Linked DNA regions of Homo sapiens: region 2 is linked to region 1. The links are contacts of gene promoters, found by promoter capture Hi-C in human tissues and cell types (Jung and others, 2019). All regions are on one chromosome and are shown on one strand. The core of a region is centred on a gene start or on the middle of the fragment in contact, and the rest is flanking DNA. Distances in the headings are between cores, read along the strand shown.

Region 1 (3,111 bases), core at 45-2,544:
CTGGCTGGGGTCGCCCCTAAGCTGGGGATCTGGGCGAGGACAGAGGCGGCAAGCAAAAGAGGGTCCTACAGAGCAAGCCCAGGCCGAGCGGCGCCGGCCACCGGCCAGATGGCAGCTGATGGCGACGGATGCGCGAGACGCCACTCACCATCATTTTGGAAGCTTATTCAGCGGCCCGCCACTCTCCCCTCTTCTCCGAGACCGGGCCGCCCAGCAACCCACAATGCCTCGCGCAATAGAAATACCCAGAAGCTTGGGCCGGGAGAGGAAGAGAACGGACCACTTCCGCTACTCTATGGTTCGTTACCACCGACTCGGTGCGGCTAGAAGGACCTGAGGCTGGGCTTCGGGGACTCTCTAGTGAGGGGCGTTCATTAAAGAGGGGTCGCCGCATTTCGGTCGTGCTTCTTAGAGCACGGAGGGTCTTTGCTCGGCCCGCATCACCTACTAACTTAATTCCACCCTCCTCCATCCCCGGACGCCAGACCAAGGAATGCAATAAAGGCAAAAGTGTGGGACGCAAAGTGTGGGATAGGCTGGTGCCAAAGCACTTTACGTGAGCGATCTCATTTAATCCTCACAACCCTATTGCGTTGGTCCTATTAAGGCCATTTTACTGATGACAGAAAGGAGGCTGAGAGGTCAAGGTGTCCAGTGTCACAGTTACATAGTCAGTGTCAACGGGACGAGCGTGGGAAGCTGCCCCCAATGCCCGTTTTCTGGCTTTGCACTGGCCAGAGGCTCCTCGTGGATGGCGTGCGCCAGGCCGCGGCCCCAGCGCCTATCCACGGTGAGCGCGCAAGCGTTGGTGGCACTGGGCGGAAGACCCCCTGGCGCAAGACGAGTGCCTTCCCGTGAAGGCGTGGGGAGGAGGGAAGCGCAGCTGGGAGGAGGGAAGCGCAGCTGGGAGAAGGCTAATCGTCGTCAATCGAGGCGGCCTTGGAGTGGACAGGACCGAGACCGCAAGGGTTAACGGCCTCGACTATCGACAGCTGAAGCAAGTCCGGCTACGGGCACACCTCCAGTGCTTGTCCTCCCTGGCCCGCCCACCGCCAGCGAGGACCCGGAGAGTATGCTGGGGCGGGGCTGAGGCGAAGGCCGGTTGTAGCTGTTAAGAGTTTAAGCCAATCAGCCCCCGGCTCCACTTCTCTCGACCAATAGGAAGTAGGCTAAGGCGCAGAGGCGGAAAGTGTGGCTACATGAGCAGGCGTCAGAGCCAATCAGCCTTGAGCCTCGTTCCCGTCGTCCAGCCCGCGGCGAGAGCGGGTATGTGGGCGGGAGGCCGGAGCAGCTGTCAGGCTGAAGTCCTGCGAGCGACGCGCGGCGGGGCGGCGAGAGGAAACGCGGCGCCGGGCCGGGCCCGGCCCTGGAGATGGTCCCCGGCGCCGCGGGCTGGTGTTGTCTCGTGCTCTGGCTCCCCGCGTGCGTCGCGGCCCACGGTGAGCGGCAACGGGTGGGACTGCGTTGCAGGGCGGGGCTGGCCGTCCAGCTTGCGCGCGTCTCGGGTTGGGGGCCAAGGGTCACCTTGGGGACCCTGCGAGTTCAGAGCAGGACAGGTCTGGGAGCGGGCGGCCGGAATAAGTGGGTGGTGGTCCAAGGACATAAAGTGGGCGCAGCCTGAGGCTGAAGCTCTGACTCCTCACCTTCCCACGACAAAGCAGATCTCCCCACTCGCCCCTCCCCGCCCACTAGCGCCGACCCAGGTGACTTAGGGTGCGACCAGAAGGGACAGCTAAGGAAGGATACTACAGGCTGGAGATATGTATGTGAGCATTCACATGTACACAGGAGCACACATTCCTACACGTGGGCACACACGCACAAACCGTTTACACCTACACAAGCACATAAATGTATACATCTATGCACATAAGTGAGCACATACGTATACCCACAACTTACACAAATAAGCACACACAAAGGCAAGCAAGGGTTGGGGAGGAGGGAGTGAGTTTGACGCTAGTCCAGGAAGGCTTTCTGGGGGTGTATTTGTATCCGAGAGGGAGTCCCCACTCCCAGGACTGTATAGCCCAGTGCCAAGCCATGGGAGCTCTAACTGATGGCTGTGATTTGGGCAGTAAACAAAGACAGCTAAAGCCTTAATGCCATCCTTGGTACACAGTAGTGACTTGGTAGTTTGTTGATAGACTAACAGACTTGTGACAGCAGTTTTCTTTTTTTCTTTTTTTTTTTTTTGAGACGGAGTCTTGCTCTGTCGCCCAGGTTGCAGTGCAGTGGCCCGATCTCGGCTCACTGCAAGCTCCGCCTCCCGGGTTCACGCCATTCTCCTGCCTCAGCCTCCCAAGTAGCTGGGACTACAGGCGCCCACCACCACGCCCGGCTAATTTTTTTGTATTTTTAGTAGAGACGGGGGTTTCACCGTGTTAGCCAGGATGGTCTCGATCTCCTGACCTCGTGATCTGCCCGCCTCGGCCTCCCAAAGTGCTGGGATTACAGGCGTGAGCCACCGCGCCCGCCCATGACAGCAGTTTTTATCTTTCAACATTCCGCAGTCTCTCTGGGTTAAGGAAACCAGGGACTCAAGTCCAGGTACAACATTAAACTTTGGTGCTGAGGAGAAGATCCCATGCCCCAGAAAAATCTAGTGGTCTGGAAATTCTCTTCATCGGTGCTGTGGAGCTAGATATAGTTGTTCACCCATTCAGGAAAGTTTATAGGGCTATCCCTATATTGTAGCCACTGTGCAAGACACTGGTGACTCTTCACTGAATGAAGTTACAAAGTGGAAGAGGCAGATATTTAAAAATTATGAATCCAGGGCAGGTGCGGTGGCTCACGCCTGTAATCCCAGGACTTTGGTAAGCCAAGGTGGGAGGATCACAAGCCCTGGCAACAAGGCGAGACCCCATTCCTATTTAAAAAATGAAAAAAAAAAATCAGCCTGGTCAACATGGCGAAACCCTCTCTACTAAAAAATACAAAAAAAAATTAGCCAGGCATGGTGGCGCACGCCTGTAGTCCCAGCTATTTGGGAGGCTGAGGCATGAGAATCGCTTGAGCCTGGGAGGTGGAGGTTGCTGTGAGGCGAGATGGCGCCACTGCACTCCAGCCTGGGTGATAAAGTGAGACCCTGTCTCAAAAAAAAGAAAA
Region 2 (2,918 bases), core at 294-2,793, 1.9 Mb after region 1:
AAGGAAAACCTATCAGATTAACAGCACATTTCTCAGCAGAAACCCTACAACCTAGAAGTGATTGGGGCCCTGTCTTCAGCCTCCTCAAACAAAACAATTATCAGCCAATAGGCCAGGCGTGATGGCTCACGCCTGTAATCCCAGCACTTTGGGAGGCCTAGGTGGGCAGATCACAAGGTTAGGAGTTTGAGACCAGCCTGGCCAACATGGTGAAACCCCGTTTCTACTAAAAATACAAAAATTAGCTGGTCATGGTGGCACATGTCTGTGATCCCAGCTACTCAGGAGGCTGATGCAGGAGAATTGCTTGAACCCGGGAGGCAGAGGTTGCAGTGAGCTGACATCACAGCATTGCATTCCAGCCTGAGCAGCAGAGTGAGACTCCATCTCGAAAAAAAAAAAAAAAAAATTATCAGCCAAGAATTTTGTACCCAGCAAAACTAAGCTTCATAAGTGAAGGAAAGATAAAGTCTTTTTCACACAAACAAATGCTGAGACAATTGACAACTACCAAACCAGCACTACAAGAACTGCTAAAAGGAGCTCTAAATCTTGAAACAAATCCTGGAAACACATCAAAACAGAACCTCTTTATACCATAAATCTCACAGGACCTATAAAACAAACAAACAAAAAAACCCAAGGTCTACAGACAACAAATGAAACAATTAATGAACAGAATGGTACCTCACATCTCGATACTAACGTTGCATGTAAATGGCCTAAATGCTCCACTTAAAAAATACAGAACTGCAGAATAGATAAGAATTTACCAACCAACTATCTGCTGCCTTCAAGAGACACACCAAAAGCAAGCAGGAGTAGATATTCTTGTATCAGATAAAACAAACTTTAAAGCAACAGCAGTTTAAAAAGACAAAGAGGAACATTATATAATGATAAAAGGCTTTGTCTAACAGGAAAATATTATAATCCTAAACATATGCACCTAACACTGGAGCTCCCAAATTTATAAAACAATTACTAATAGACCTAAGAAATGAGATAGACAGCAACACAATAATAGTGGGAGACTTCAGTACTCCACTGACAGCATTAGACACGTCATCAAGATAAAGTCAACAAAGAAACAATTTAAACTATACCCTGGAACAAATGAACTTAACAGATATACAGAACATTGTACCCAACAACCGCAGAATACACATTCTATTAAACAGCACATGGAACATTCTCCAAGATAGACCATATGACAAGCCACAAAATGGGCCTCAATAAATTCAAGAAAATTGAAATTATATCAAGCACTCTCTCAGACCACAGTGGAATAAAACTGGAAATCAACTCCAAAAAGAACCTTCAAAATCATGCAAATGCATGGAAATTAAATAACCTGCTCCTGAATGATCACTGGGTCAAAAATGAAATCAAGATGGAAATTTAAAAATTCTTTGAACTGAACAACAATACTGACACAACCTATTAAAACCTCTGGGATACAGCAAAGGTGGTGCTAAGAAAAAAGTTCATAGCCCTAAATGCCTACAACAAAAAGTCTGAAAGAGCACCAACAGACAATATAAGGTCACATCTCAAGGAACTAAAGAAACAAGAACAAATCAAACCCAAACCCAGCAGAAGAAAGGAAATAACCAAGATCAGAGCAGAACTAAATGTAATTGAAACAAAAAAATACAAAAGATAAATGAAGCAAAAAGCTGGTTCTTTGAAAAGATAAACAAAATTGATAGACCATTAGCATGATTAACCAAAAAAAAAAAAAAGAGAGAAAATCCAAATAAGCTCAGTTAGAAATGAAAACGGGAGATATCACAACTGACACCACAGAAACACAAAAGATCATTCAAGGCTACTATAAACACCTTTACGTGCATAAACTTGAAAACCTAGAGGAGATGAATACATTTCTGGAAAGATACAACCTTTCTAGCCTAAATCAGGAAGAATTAGATACTCTGAACAGACCAATAACAAGCAGCAAGACTGAAATGGTAATAAAAAAAATTACCAACAACAAAAAGTCCAGGACCAGAAGGATTCACAGCAGCATTCTAACAGACATTCAAAGAAGAATTGGTACCAATGCTATTGACACTATTCCACAAGATAGAGAAAGAGGGAACCCTCCCTAAATCATTCTATGAAGCCAGTATCACCCTAATACCAAAACCAGGAAAGGACATAACCAAAAAAGAAAACCACAGACCAATATCCCTGATGAACATAGATGCTAAAATTCTTCACAAAATACTAGCTAACTGAATCCAGCAACATATCAAAAAGATAATCCACCATGATCAGGTGGCTTTCATACCAGGAATGCAGGGATGGTTTAACATATGCAAGTCAATAAATATGATATATACCACATAAACAGAATCAAAAACAGAAATCACATAATCATCTCAATAGATACAGAAAAAGCACTCGACAATATCCAGCATCCTTTCATGATTAAAACTCTCAGCAAAATCAGCATACAAGGGACATATCTCAATGTAATAAAAGCCATCTATGACAAACCCACAGCCAACATAATACGGAATGGGGAAAAGTTGAAAGCACTCCCTCCAAGAACTGGAACAAAACAAGGATGCCCACTCTCACCACTCCTCTTCAATATAGTACTGGAAGTCCTAGCCAGAGCAATCAGACAGGAGAAAGAAATAAAGGGCACCCAAATAAGGAAAGAGGAAGTCAAACTGTCACTGTTTGCTGATGATATGATTGTTTACCTAGAAAACCCTAGAGACTCCTCCAGAAAGCTCCTAGAACTGATAAAAGAAAGTTTTTCAACAAAGTTTCCAGATACAAAATTAATGTACGCAAATCAGTAGCCCTTCTATACACCAACAGCAACCGAGCTGAGAATCAAATCAAGAACTCAACCTCTTTTACAATAGCTGCAAAAAAAAAAAAAAAAAAAAAAAACCTCA

Evidence for each region. Contacts are between HindIII fragments. The study calls those that stand out against the background at their distance.
Region 2: a fragment that was not itself captured here is called in contact with the fragment with the promoter of PRADC1 in region 1 in 1 of the 25 tissues and cell types used here (aorta).

What each region holds. Positions count from the first base shown.
Region 1 is chr2:73,231,422-73,234,532 of GRCh38, reverse strand. PRADC1 (protease associated domain containing 1) reads left to right here and starts at 1,294. Exons shown (of 5, transcript NM_032319.3): 1 at 1,294-1,439. The coding sequence starts at 1,373. It overlaps CCT7 (chaperonin containing TCP1 subunit 7), which reads right to left and starts at 225. Exons shown (of 12, transcript NM_006429.4): 1 at 149-225. The coding sequence starts at 154. RefSeq lists enhancers at 338-407, 528-577, 219-750 and a silencer at 1,038-1,247. The HindIII fragment of the contact is 5,775 bases long and covers 1-3,111 here.
Region 2 is chr2:71,319,139-71,322,056 of GRCh38, reverse strand. No RefSeq gene overlaps it. Among named protein-coding and RNA genes, the nearest start is that of ZNF638, 11 kb to the left of the region's middle. The HindIII fragment of the contact is 5,244 bases long and covers 1-2,918 here.